Linked DNA regions of Homo sapiens: region 2 is linked to region 1. Evidence: promoter capture Hi-C in 16 types of primary human blood cells and fetal thymus (Javierre and others, 2016). All regions are on one chromosome and are shown on one strand. The core of a region is centred on a gene start or on the middle of the fragment in contact, and the rest is flanking DNA. Distances in the headings are between cores, read along the strand shown.

Region 1 (7,066 bases), core at 4,108-6,607:
CAGAGGGCTGCTCGGCCAGAAGGGGCCTGGTGGGATGGAGGGTGTGCCCCACAGCAGCATCAGCCAGGAGCCATGTACGTCCCCTCCCCACAGACACCCTCCATCCCCGTTGGAGCTGCCACTGCATAAACCTGCCTCAAGCTGCTGGGTGGCCCCCCACGGGTACCAAGGACTGAGATGGAGTATTTCACGATCCTGGTGAAATGAGCACTTGGATCCAGAAATTAGAGAAGTGAAATGATAGGATAAAGTTGTGTTTCTGTCACTACTGAGCTGATGGACTGCCTTGAATACCTGAGACATAAAAGGAGAAAACTGAGGCTCAGGAAGGGCTGCGTAGCCCAAGGCCGCCCCGTTAGCATGGAGAGGAGGCAGAGCCAGGCCTGCAACCAAGTTTGTGAGACTCCAACTCCAGCACTGCCTACCTTAAAAATGAGGAGGTCTCCATCCTGGCTAACATGGTGAAACCCCGTCTCTACTAAAAAATACAAAAAATTAGCCAGGCGTGGTGGCGGGCGCCTGTAGTCCCAGCTACTTGGGAGGCTAAGCCGGAGAATGGCGTGAATCCAGGAGGCGGAGCTCGAAGTGAGCCAAGATTGTGCCACTGCACTCTAGCCTGGGCGACAGAGTGAGACTCCATCTCAAAAAAAAAAAAAAAAAAAAAAAAATGAGGAGCCCAGGCCGGTGAGGTGGCTCACTCCTGTAATCCCAGCACTTTGGGAGGCCAAGGGAGGAAGATTACCTGAGGTCAGGAGTTCGAGGCCAAGACCAGCCTGGTCAACATGGTGAAGCCCCTTCTCTACTAAAAATACAAAAATTAGCCGGGTTTGGTGGCGGGCACCTGTAATCCCAGCTACTCGGGAGGCTGAGACAGGAGAATCACTTGAACCCTGGAGACAGAGATTGCAGTGAGCCGAGATTGCACCATTGCACACCAGCCTGGCGACAAGAGGGAGACTCTGTCACAAAAAAAAAAAAAAAAAAAAAAAAGAGGAGCCCAAATGTTCACCAAGAGAGACTGTCAACTAAATAAATATTGGGGGGTGGGGGCAGAGAAAGAATCACCAAAAGGACCAATATGATCATCTTCAAAAGATACCTGTACCACTAAGTGAAAATAAAAGTGCATAGCTGCTTATTTGTTACTAGTGTGTACCTTAAATAAATCTGTGAGGACACAAGAAACTGGCGCACGGTCCTCTGGGGGAAAGTGAGTGATGAGGGGATAGGCAAGGGAAAAGACTTTTTCCCTATGCAAGCTCTTATACCTCTTAGATTTTCAATCAAGAGAATGTATTACCTATTCAAAAAATAATAACCTTTTTTTAAAAAAAGAGGGTGACAGAGAATCTCCTTGTTCAACCCTCTTAAATTCAATGAAACAGACCCCTACTGAGCACCCAGGGTGTGCCAAGCCGTTGGTGGGTGCTGTGGGTTATACCATGATGAACAGGATGCTGTCTCTGCCCAGCAGGGGCCCACTCACCCCAGGCAACCCAGGCCCCCCAGGCTGGAGGGTGGGACAGGCTGCCACAGGACTCACACAGCTTCTCCCCCGTTATGCATTTGCCCAGACCCCACCCACCCTGGACTGGGAGCCTCAACTAGTACAGGGTGAGGGTCCGTCCAGGGCCAGCCTCTGTGGGTCCTGATGACCACTGAGCAGTTTGAGCCAAACTCTTCGGGCCCACACTGCTCCTTCCCGGCAAAGTCTCAGGACCACCACGGGGGAGGTGGGAAGCTTGAGTACCTCCCTCCTGTACTTCTATGGAAAGAGTATTACACAATTGTGTCCTTTCTTCTCTTGCTTTAAGCACTCACTGCTTGTAACCAAGGCAGCAATTACTGTGAGGGTCAAAGAAATGGTAAGCCCCCCAGATGGATTTCGGTCTGGATGGGAAGTGTGGGCAGGTCCCAACTCTGCAAATGCAGCTGAAACCCACCAACTTGGAGAGCCCCCTCCCTCTGCTGCCTGGCCCTCCCTGCATTCTGTCTCCTAACCATGCTGCCCCTAGCCCTCTCCTAGGACCAGGCAGCAGTAGCAGCAACAATGTGCATATCTGGACTTCTCACCATATGCCCCAGCATTCACATCATGTGCCTGTGACTGTTCTCTGGCTACACCAGCAAGAGATAAATACCTCCCCTGGGTTGAAGACACACCACTGGTGTCCCTGAGACTCTAGGAGAGTAGAGGAGGCTCTTCCTGGAGGATCCACATAGTCCCAGGGTGCATGAAGCCAGTGAATCACAAAATACTCCCCTGCCATTGCTGCCAATGATCCTTGTGTTATCTTGGGTATACCCTGGGAGGGAGATGGGGCAGATGAGAAAACCAAGGCTCGTGTGCTGAGACCTACTCACCAGGTAGCTAGAGAACAGCAGAGTTGACATCTTAATCCAGGTTTCCTAACCCCAAACCTTATACTCTCTCTTCACAGTATTGTTGGAAGAGCACTGAGAGGTCATTTGGTACAACCTCGTGTTTTATAAATGGCAAACTGAGGTCAGAGAGGGAGAGAGACATCTTCAAGGTCACACAGCATGCAATGGGGCAAAGCCAGGTCCCAAGAACCTGGACCCCTGTCTACCAGGATGGCGACTGTGTTGAACTGGGAAGTGCTTGTCCTGACTAAAGGTGTTCAAATCCTTTTTTTTTTTTTTAACCAATGCTTCAAAATATACCAGTAGGGTTTGTGGGAGTGGGGAACACAGAAGAAACAAGATTGGCCATGAGTCGGTAATTGTTGAAGCTAGGTATTAGATAATGGGGATATTAATACTATACTGTGTAAATATGTATACGTTTTAAAATTTCCACAAAACTTTTAAAAAATTAACGTGCTGTCAAAAAAAATTAGGTACTCAAGCCATATTAGGTCCACAAGCCACTGATTAGCAAACTCTATTCTGGACACTCCTGAATATCCTGCTGGCCATGTCTATACTTCTTTCCAATTCTCTCTGCATAGCGTGGGATGCGGGAGATAGGAGAGGGAGGAAGGGAGATAACTGGCTTAGGCAGGGCTTGGAAGTTGGCCATCCATTCCCGAGAGCATAGACTCTTGGGATTTGGATGGCTGTCATACAAATGGATACAGGTGACACCCCTGCCCCTGCCCATACTCCACACTCCTTCCAGTCTGTCTATCCCCACAGACACTCTACCCATCATCCCTGTACCTCACTGTACTTTGCTCACCTTATTATTTTTTGAGACAGGGTCTTGCTCTGTGACCCAGGCTGGAGGGCACTGGCGTAATCATAGCTCATTACAGCCTTGGTCTCCTGGCCTCAAATAATCCTCTCACCTCAGTCTCCTAAGTAGCTGGGACTTCAGGTACACACCACCACACCCAGCTAATTTTTAAATTATTTGTACAAACAGGGTCCCCCCATATGGCCCAGGCTGGTCTCGAACTCCTGGGCTCCATTAATCTTCTGCCTTCGTCTCCCATAGTGCTGGGATTACAGACATGAGTCTCCGTGCCCAGCCAGTCTTTTTTGCCCTCTATCATCTACCACCCACCATACCAAGGGAAACAAGCAAATCTGGCGTCTGATGTTCCCGGCCTGCAGAAGACGCCATATCCCATCTGGATGAGAAATGAAGCACATGAGCAGCCTGGCAGAGCCACAGTTAATGTGAACCTGGAGAGGAACCGTGCTGTCTTCCAGCAAGACCTCACCAGCAGGGCGTGAAGCCATGAGATCTGGGGTGGAAGGGGGTTGGAGAAAGGTCTGGGTTTTATTTTTCCTTCTCCTTTTCTTAGGCTAATTACCATTCATCGCAATCCCTTTCCTAAACCCTAATATCTTCCCAGTTTATAAAGTGCTCTCACATTTACAATATTTAATCTTCCCAACCCTGTGAGGTCAATATTATCCATATTTTGTAAATGAGGAAACTGAAGGTCCTCATGATCAAGTGATTCACCTAAGACCATAGCTTGTGGGTGGCTGAGCCCAGGGCTGCAGACCCTAATTTTAATGTTCTCTCCTCTACCCCATATTGCGGAGGGCAGGCAGGCAGTCCCCTGTCATGGGGCTCTGCAGCTCTCCATGGAACCAATAATGGAGAAGAAAATTGCGTTGCATTTTCTAAGTAGTCAGCTGGGATGGCAGGAATTTATTTATTTTATTTACTTATTTATTTTTTGAGACAGAGTCACGCTCTTGTTGCCCAGGCTGGAGTGCAGTGGCACGATCTTGGCTCACTGCAAGCTTTGCCTCCCAGGTTCAAGCAATTCTCCTGCCTCAGCCTCCCTAGTAGCTGGGACTACAGATGCCCGCCACCACACCCAGCTAATTTTTTTGTATTTTTAGTACAGACAGGGTTTCACCATGTTGGCCAGGTTGGCCTCAAACTCCTGACCTCAGGTGATCCGCCTGCCTCTGCCTCCCACAGTACTGGGATTACAGGCGTGAGCCACTGTGCCTGGCCATGGCAGGAAATTTTGATGGGCATCTACTTACCTGCAAGTGTGTTGTGCTTTCTTAATTGAGGGGCATTGTTAGAGGATTGTTAGAGGTAGTGGTGTTACTTGACTGGGTCTTCTGGGGTGTTGATGTGCACAGGGGAAATTTGGATTTCCCATCACTTTGTGTGATGACCACACAGCCCCTAAATCTCACCTAAGTGTGATATGGAGAAGCTGAAAGAAGCCACTACATTGTCCACATGAGCTAGGAACAGTGACTTTAGGTCTTACATTAAATCTTAATTCTGCCTTAACTTTGCTGTGCAACTCAGGCCAGACTTCTCCCTCTCTGGTTCTCAGAACAGCCCTGGCAGCCAAACCGAAGTTATCTCCTATGCCAGCCTGAGACTCCACTCCCTTTGCAACCTCCTGGAGAAGATAACTTAGGGAAAGACTGTCACTGCTCAGAGGAAGCATCCCAAACCCCTCACTGGTTTAGGAATTTAACACTACCGAGCAACGGCCCCAGAAGGCAAGGCGATTGTTAGGAGGAATTAAACAGGCTAGTGCTGGACCCAGCCATCCAGTCCTGGCTTACACAGAGGTTGCTTTTCATGCCTTTTCACTCTGTTAATTTGGCTTGTTTTCCAAACATGGGTCAAACAACCCCTCTCCAGAAGCGGCAGCAGCAGAAGGAAATGTTATTAAAAATGAGTCTGTTAGTGGGAATGGTGTGTGGATGAAGTCTTTGGGAGTTTTGGCTGCCAAATAAAGACTTTATTGTCATTCCTCCTTTCCCAAGCTCCCTCCCTCTCTCCTCCCCTCCCCTCCCTCCCTCCTCCCTCCTCTCCTCCCCTCCCTCCCTATGATCTGCCCCTCCCTCCCCCCAAGCTAACCTCCCCACCCCAATAGGATCTGGTGGAAGAAAAGTCAGGCAAACACAAGCACGCACACACCACTGGGAGATCAGATCTTCTAGCTGGCTCTCTGCTGCCACAGCTCCGCCGAAGGGAGGGGGTGGAAGAGGAGGACTAAACTCAGAGCTGAGAGGAGAGGCAGGTGTGTGCAGGTAAGCCCAGTTGGGAGATGGGCAGGAGACTGGGAAGAATCTTTCATCCAGTAAGTTTCCTCCAGCTCTGTCCATTTATTGATCTAGTCTCTATCCTCTCACTCCTTCCTTCCTCCCACCTCTTTCTCCTCTCAAATGAGTTCAAATTTAGTCTTCCTAACTTCTTTCCTATAGCCTCTTCCTTTTCTTTTCATCACTCTGTACCCCTATATTTGCTTACTGCAAAAGTTAAGCTTTCCTGCTGCAGATGTTTGTTGTAGCACAGAGAGCCACGCTGCACAAAGTGTTTCTACAGATCAGGTGTTTCCATAGAAACTGGACTCCAGAACCCATTTCTTTGCACCTTTTGTGTATTGTCACACATTGTGGAAGTCACACACATCACACGGAGGCTGCACGTTCACTACCATCACCCCACACGACCATACAAAATGAAGACATCCTGTCCATTCACCTCTGCCCTCTGCATCTGACATGCAGAGCTAGACCACATCATCACCAGACACCAGCAGACACACACACACATGCATGCACACATGTTCCCTGCATCTTGTCTCTCGCCCTCTCACACACACCTCCCTAGCTGTAAGAGCAAAGATAAAGTACGTTTTCCCACTGAGATGGCAGAGCCAGAAGAAAATCTTGCATCCCAAGTCCAGGCCGAATAGGGAGGAGATAAGCAAGAGCGGGAGCTGGAAGGGTTTCTTCATTATTTAGGGCTTCACTGGGTAGGAGGGAGAGAAAAACGGCTTTTTCCAACCTGCACAGTGTCTTCTCAGCAGCTTTCAATTTCTGTCTCACTGGTCCAAACCACTTGGCTTTTGGAAAGAAAGAAGAAAGCGACCCAGTTCCCAATCCTTGAAGGTCCTAATTCCCAGCTCTGGGGACAGTTCATTTTTTTATTTTTTTTTCCTGCAGGCAGCCAGAAAAATATTTTTCTTTAAAGCCGTTCTGAAATTATTCCAACCATTTAGGTTGGCAAAAGGTCCTGTGGCAGAGGAGAAAAAAAAAAAAAGGCAGCAGTTCCTTAAGCAGTTGGGGAGGGGAAAACTGAAGGGCGGCCCCTCTCCTGCTCCCCTGCTCATTCCTCTCTATTAATAGAGAGGGTCTGTCCCAAGGCAGGCGGGGTGTAGGGAGATCAGGGGTCCCACACACAGCTGATCTTCACAGTCACCTAAGGGCTGGAGAGGGAGGAGTGTGGAGGGCTTACTAAAAATACAGATGTCGGCTCTCACTGCAGATCTACTGAATCGAGACCCAGGAATCTTGTTTTAATACTTCAGGAGATTCTGATGGTCCACCAGGGCTCGAGAATCAGGGGCCTGAGAGAGAGCTTTGCTGTAATTTTTAAGCCCAAGACTCCGGCAGTGTTAGCTGGGCAGAAGGACTGTGTCCTGGAAAAGGAGCACCAGAGTGTCCCAAATAGGCCACCTCTTTTTTGGGGAGTGGGAGTAAACAGGGAAGAGCTGTCTCCCTCTCTCCTCCTTGCAAGCACAAGCAGCCATATATACCACAGAGGAACATTCCAGTAAGAAAGTTCCCCCAAGATGGCTCCACAGAGCTTCTGTTTCCCCTC
Region 2 (7,392 bases), core at 2,241-4,740, 94 kb before region 1:
CAGCCTGGGTGACAGAGTGAGACTCTGTCTCAAAAAACAAACAAACAAAAACTTCCAGAGGTCATTCTGATGATTGTATGAACCTCCGTGATTCTGATTCTAACTCATCTCAGAGAACTAGGAGTCTTCTCTCAGAATCACCTGGAACAGACTTCACAAACACTTCAGAAAGCCTTTATCATATCTCACAACTCATAAAGAAGTAGACGTTTTCTGTTGGTTCTAACCCCATTATGCTACAACAGGATCTCATGTCTTTGTGTCTTCTTATCCTCAAAAGGAAGATGACCACGGCCCCTCTGTTCCCTCGCCTGTGTGCCAAATGGATCCACAGCTAGAGACAAGCTCCTTCCCTTTGAACGGTGGGAAGCAGGCCAAGATGTTTTAAAGACAGATGGCATCAGATGCAGAGAAGCAAGGTTAGGCTTGATTCATCTAAACCTGTCCCCTTCAGAGCCCCCTCCCACACCCTTCCCCTGACAACTGAGTGATAAAATTCTGTCCCTGGATGAAGTCAACAATCCTTATCATGACAGAAAACTGCAAATATTTGGTGTTTTTCCATTGCACACAGGGCTTAAGGGAACATAGGGAATCTCAAAACAGAAATGTGTTTGGGGGTGTGTGTATGTGTGTGTGTGTTCAATCCTTTCTTCAAAATATTTCAGCTCCTCTATTTTTAGAAGATGATGACATTCTCCCAGCATTTCAACCAGGTTTTCAGAAGTCACGAGGCTCAGTCCTGCACGCACACAATCACATCTGCCTATACAAAGACACAGAGAAACATACATAGCTACTCACACATAATTCCATACACGTTTAAATGCCCAGGCATCTAGAAAATGACCCTCACATATGCCCGTCTACACACATACATGTATACCTGCATCTGGGTTCACAACAGACCACACCCTAACACATACATACACATACACACCACACTCTAACACATAATGTGAATAAATAGAAACTAGTAAATAGAGCTATTTCTGCAGTGCCCCTGGCATATACTCACATGAAGTGCATGTGCAAAGTACATCTGTGTGTGGTTAATTCACCATCAGATTTTAGGGTAGTAAAGGCAATCACCTATTTTCAGGGCATGTCAGAAATCTAGCTGAATTCCTAAACCTGCTAGATTCCCCATCTCCTTCTTCTGTCCTTGGCCCTCAAGTGAAATGACCTAACTTCAAATGGACTCAGGGGCTGGGGGGTTATTCCAGCTCAGAACAGGAGATCCTTGAACATGGACCCTTGAAAGGGCCCATGGAGGCTAGGCAATGTCTACTATGAAAAGAGAAATAAATAGCTCCACCATTGGAAACAAGTGTCCAGAAAGCTGCAAGTTTATCCTGTACTATAGCCAATGAACAACCAGGTGGTGATCACATCCCCGGGGAAGCGGGGAGGGCGATGCAGGCACACATGGGGTCCTGTTGTAGGAGAGAGACCAGAGGGCAGGAAGGGAGGAAAATCTGAATCCATAAGCTTTCTCTTTATGCAAACCAGACTCATAAGTTTTATTTATTTCAGCTGGAACTCGGAGCACAGCTGCCTTATTTACTTACCTACTGGCTGCATTTCTGAGAACCAGTTTTATTCCTGTTCAAAGGAAGCCAGGCAGAGTTGGGAAAATATTTTCCTAGCCAGCTCCTTAGCACCACTGTCTGAGGGAAACCATCTGGCCAAGATGCCCTTCAAGTGAGTAAATGCAGTATTGCCCTCTCCCTGCACAGGGGAGGGGGCATGCACCAGACAGGGAAAATGGCAGGCTCCTGGGGTGGGCTGAAGCTGTGGTTCTTCCCACTGACCCTCCTGGGCCCCTGGAGTCCAGTGATGTGCTGGTAAAGGTTTAACAATCAGCTGTCTGGGAGGTAGGGGTGGGGCATTGCCTTGCAGTGTTTGCTGATTTCCATGGCCTGTTTGGAACTACCAAAGTGAAGTCACTGAGTGTGGGGTTAGGAGGAGATGCCCAGGAGTACCCCATTTCAGAGTATTTCTACCACGTAGATGCAGTAGGGGGTATGTAACCTCAAGAGTGAAGATACTAATCAATACAGTAAAATAATTAGCAAGTGATGAGTTTTGAGTACTTATTACTTTTATTTTTAATGTGATATAATTTTAAGTTTATATAATTTATTTTCAAATGACATATGCCTTTAACAACTGGCTCTCAGAGTTCTGGAAAATTTCACTGTCAGTTCTTGCAAGGCAGGATGGGCTGGCTCCGGAGCACTGCTGCTGGAGTCCCTCTTTTACTTAGAGTCAGAGAATAAATATGCCAGTGTTAAGATCACTCCCTTTAGAAGCTCAGGGCGTATCATGGGAGATTTAGTGAGGGCTCTACTTCCTTAAGGAGATTTTGTCTTCAGAAGGCAGAATAGACACCTGCTTGGGAAAGAACAGAGGTTGAAAAACACCATGTATGGGTTTTTTTTTTTTTTTTTTTCGGTTCTACCCACCATGTGTACTTGACCAAGACAGCACAGCACACAAGTTGCAGGTTCTGCCTTGCCTGGGCAGCTCCTGACTGTATATGCTTCAGCTTATAGAGTCAAAACAACTTGGCAACATCTAGCTTTATTCCTCCGGGACCCTTGTGCTCTAAGGATAGTTCTCTGGCTGCAGTACCCTGGCATTTTCCAGGTCTCAAGCTCTAGCCTCTTTACCAGTTTAGCAGGATGGTGCTAGTGGGTCTGTGGCCATAAGATTTTCCATTATTTCCTACAGCTTGTCTAGAGGAGTTGGGATATTTCTTGTCTCCCAGAACTCTCTCATGGGAAAAATTCTTACATGAGAGACAGAACACTTTACCCAACTGGAGTCAGGGAAAGTTACACATCTGTCCTGACCTCTGAGCTTCTGAAAAATCACTGAGCTTTATCAAAAGCACACAGGTCCAGAAGTGGAAATTTATAAGACAAAAGAAAATAGGAAATGAAAGTTGGAGGGGAAACCCTCTTAGTGTTGTTGCAATGCCAAGAACTGGGGGAGGGTTTACGGCTCTAGTAGTTTGCTGAAGGATGAACAGGACATGCCAGGGACCAGAGGGTCAGAACAACAGATAATCAGAAATGAAGAGGTCAATGGGTGGGAAAGTAGGAGTGAATGGTGTTGATAGATTTGTTTCTACCATTTTAGGGTTGTTCTGTAATGGCTGCCTATAGTCACAATCACGCCCACAATTCTTCCTACTCATTAAGACCTCTGCTACCCTAGCCCTGAAATTTTCCTTCATCCCCTCCTGTCTTCACTTCCTTCCTAACCCAGTATAGATTCTATGGCCCTTCATAACCACCCCTTTGGGCATGTCCTGGTCTTCCTCCAACATACCTTCCCAGCAAAACCCTAACCTTATGTAGATCCAGCTCTCTGCTCATTCTATACCATTCCAAGAAAGCAAACGTGGCCAGAGGAAAACCGCAACCGTGTGGACTGATTCTACCCTGAATACAAGATGATGCATCTCTAACGAGGCTCAGAACTGCCTGGAAGTCCAGCTACACTTCCCTAGTCAATCCACGCCCTCAATCCCCAGCTACAGTGGACCAACAGCCCTTACTCCTATTGAGGCAGCTCCCCCACCCCCATCCCCACTTAAACATTGGATCGATCCCATCTCCTGTCTACTTGGGACCTTTGGTCCTGCTGATATCCCCTCTCCCTCTTGAAACATCACTTATTTCCTTTCTACTGAATCAAAACTCCAAATTTCTTATGACATTTAAACTTCTCCTCTCTCTCAGCCTTTGTCTGCATCAGGCCAGGAGCTGCAGTGGGGAATAATGGATGGTGATGAACTTCATCTGTTTCCCTGCTGTGTACATCTCCTCCTCCTCCCCTTCTCACTAGGCTGCCTCTTGTCCTCTGGGGCTGCTGCTCTGGGAGAGGGAGGAGATGCAAAGAGCAGGAAAGGTCTTGCTCGGCTGGTACTGTTGTAGGATAGCACAGAATTTTCTGGCCTTGGCAGGTGTTTAAAGCTGACTTTCTTCTCTTGGGTCTTACATAGGTTTCTTACACAGGGGTTGGGCTTCTCTGCTGGCAGCTTCCTTGATACTGACCCTGCCTTTCCTCCAGCTCTCCATTCATCACCCCTCCCTTAGCGCCTATGCATCCTTTAGTCCACACCATACAGACTCTTGTGGGGACCCCATTGTTCCTCCAGGCAGGCTATATGAACAGCATCCCCAGGCCACCATCCCTTGCTGGGCTCTCATCAGCATTTTGGTCCTACTGTCATGGGATTACGGCTACTTCCCAACACAACAGTCTTTACTTGGCTATGCCCAGGCAGATAACCAGCCACAGGTTCTTGCCTTCATTACCTTTGCAGGCGTGGGTCCAGCTCCAGTCGCTTATTTCTATTATGGTCGCCAAGTGGTTCCTGAAAGCCCCAATCACTTGTTTTCATGTGAAGGGCAGGCTTCTTCCTCAGAACATTTCTCCATCTTTCTCCAAGGAAATCAAGTTCTGTCTCTCTCCACTTACTCCCCACTTTCCATCTCAATCTTTAACACCTGTAAGTGCTTGATGTGCTCAGGGTTGTAAAGTGGGTTCTTCAATATCTCAGTTGTGTGTCCCTTGTAGATGGTTTAGCCCTCACTCTGGAATGTGGGCTCATTTTGCACCTATCAGTTTGCGCCAAGCCTTTGGGCTCTCCTTCAAAACTGAGGAAGAAAGAGTTGTGTATTAGCATCTTGTTTCACACATCCCTATCCACCCATGGCTATCTCCACAACCCCCAAATTTGGTTGGCTTCTTCACCAAATACTTCTCTCTAGGAATGCTCCTCCAGCACCCCTGACTCATTGAGCCCAGGCTGGAGTGTAGTGGCGTGATCTTGGCTCACTGCAGCCTCTGCCTCCCGGGTTCAAGCCATTGTCCTGCCTCAGCTTCCTGAGTAGCTGGAATTACAGGTGTGCACCACCACGCCTGGCTAATTTTTGTATTTTTAGTAGAGATGGGGTTTCACCATGTTGGCCTGGCTGGTCTTGAACTCCTGACCTCACACAATCCACCCGCCTCGGCCTCCTAAGTGCTGGAATTACAGGTGTGAGCCACTGTCCCCAGCCCTCTTCCTGACTTTAAAGTTTTCGTTGTAATTTTCTTTTCTTCTCTTCCTCTGTTTTTTTTTTAAATTAATATTTTATTTTATGATTTGTTTATGTAATAGCCAGCATGAAGGGTGGGTGCAGGGATGATGGCAGGAGGAAGAGGCCACACTGCACAGCGGAATGACAGACCTCTCCCTGCTGTCCTCCTGAGCCGCCCTGCAGTCCCACTCAGAGCTTTCTGCAGTAGGCAATCGTCTTGCTTGGGGGAAGCCAGCATCTTTTGAGCATGCTCTCTGCCATCTTTGGTGTAAGGGTTTTACTCTTCATATATGTCATCTTGGTGTTATAAAATCCAGAATGCTTTTCCTCTGAGTATCACGTCCATGTTCTGGAAGATAGAGGACGGGATGGAGTCTGTGTCAGAAAAGCACAAGCTTCCCCCATAAATTCCCAGCACTCTTCTGCTTGTGTTTCATTCACCAGAGCTGTGTGTGCATCCCTAGCTCTAAGGGAGTCTAGGAAAGTGAGAATAATAGAAAACTCCCTAACTTTGTCAAAGCCTTCCATTTTGTTTGTTTTGAGATAATCTCAAATGTATAGTGAAGTTGCAAGTATAGTACAAAAACCTTTATTCCCCCTGAACTGCTGAGAGTAAGTCACCAGCCAATGCCCCAGCACTCCTGAAAAATTTAATGTGTATGTCCTACAAACAATGGATTTGTTTGTAGGACATGCTGCATGTTGCATAGCTGCATAGCTGCAATACAACCATGGGAATCAGGAAATTAACACTGGTATAGTATTGCCTGTTAATCCCTGGAGCCCATTCCTGTTTTGCCATTTGTCCCAAGGATCTCCTTTATAGCAAAAGTATCCAGTTTGGAATTCTGTGTAGCATTTGGTTGCCATGTCTCTTTGGTCTCTTATGTCTGGAACAGTTCCTCAGTCTTTCCTTGACATGACCTTGACAATTTTAGATTAGAGGCCAGTTATTTTATATAATAGATCTCTATTGGTGTGGGTTTGTTTGTTTTCGTGTGATTAGATTCAGGTTTTGCCTCTTTGGAAAGAAGATCACAGGAGTGATCTGGGTTCCCACTGCATCCTAGCAGGTGGAGCTCAATTCCAGTTTGTCCTATTACTGAAGATGTTTGCTTTGATTACTTAAACTGGTGTCTGCTGGGCTTCTCACTGTGACATTTTCCTTTTCCCTTTGTAACTAAAAAGAATCTTGCAGGGCAGTACTTCAAAACTATTCAGATATCCCACTTCTCATCAACCATGGAATTTACTCATTTATTTATTTAGGTTAGTTGAGACCAAGGGTCAGCTGTTTTGTGTAAAGGATCAGATAATAAATATTTTAGGTTTTGTGGTCCAGGGGGCAAAATCAAGGATAGTATATAGGTACTTTTATAATGAGAAATTAAAAATTTTTGCAAAATTGTCACTGATGAAATTAAAACTGTAATAATTATTGAGTAAATTTTTTTAATGCAGGTCTACTAATAAGAGAGGAATTCTTTTGTGAGGGTAAGATTTGACTTAATTTGGGTTCAAAGTGAGTGTTCCCTATTATCAAATTGATTGTAAATGTTCCCCTATAAAAACCATTCTTGGCCAGGTGCAGTGGCTCACGCCTGTGATCCCAGCACTTTGGGAGGCCGAGATGGGGCGGATTGCTTGAGCTCACGAGTTCAAGACAAGCCTGGCCAACATGGTGAAACCCTGTCTCTACTAAAAATACAAAAATTAGCTGGGCGTGGTGGTGCGTGCCTGTAGTGCCAGCTACTCGGGAGGCTGAGGCAGGAGAATCACTTGAACCCAGGAGGTGGAGGTTGCAGTGAGCCGAGATTGCACCACTGCACTCCAGCCTGGCGACAGAGCAAGACACTATCTCAAAAAAAAAAAAAAAAAAAGGGAATTAGCCAGGAGTGTTGGTGCACACCTGTAATCCCAGCTACTCGGGAGGCTGAGGCAGGAGAATTGCTTGAACCTGGGAGGCAGAGGTTGCAGTGAGCCGAGATCGTGCCATTGCACTCCAACCTGGGCAACAAGAGTGAAACTCCATTTCAAAAAAAAAAAAAAAAAAGAAAAAAGAAAAGAAAAGACAAAATGCTTTCTTCTTCAATCTATTCCCCCTGTAAGTAACCAATTTCCCATCCCTGTTGCTGCCCCTGTGCCATGTTGATGGCCCCCTCATCTGGCTTGGGCTCTGATATCCTCCAGTGGGCCACCCTTGTATGTGGACATCTTGTCTCCCCGTGCAGGCTCTGTAAAAGGTGCAAGCCACCCTTTTCCATCCATGTAGATGCCTCAGCATCTCACAGCC

The links. Contacts are between HindIII fragments. The CHiCAGO score rates a contact against its expected background, and 5 or more counts as called.
Region 2: a fragment that was not itself captured here is called in contact with the fragment with the promoter of PRELP in region 1 in 2 of 17 cell types (M2 macrophages and M1 macrophages); the score reaches 6.8 in M2 macrophages.

The regions. Positions count from the first base shown.
Region 1 is chr1:203,470,449-203,477,514 of GRCh38, forward strand. PRELP (proline and arginine rich end leucine rich repeat protein) reads left to right here and starts at 5,358. Exons shown (of 3, transcript NM_002725.4): 1 at 5,358-5,490. The HindIII fragment of the contact is 1,499 bases long and covers 4,223-5,721 here.
Region 2 is chr1:203,378,367-203,385,758 of GRCh38, forward strand. LOC102723529 (a long non-coding RNA gene) reads left to right here. Exons shown (of 7, transcript XR_922438.3): 4 at 281-419; 5 at 1,537-1,704. Among named protein-coding and RNA genes, the nearest start is that of BMNCR, 26 kb to the right of the region's middle. The HindIII fragment of the contact is 4,003 bases long and covers 1,490-5,492 here.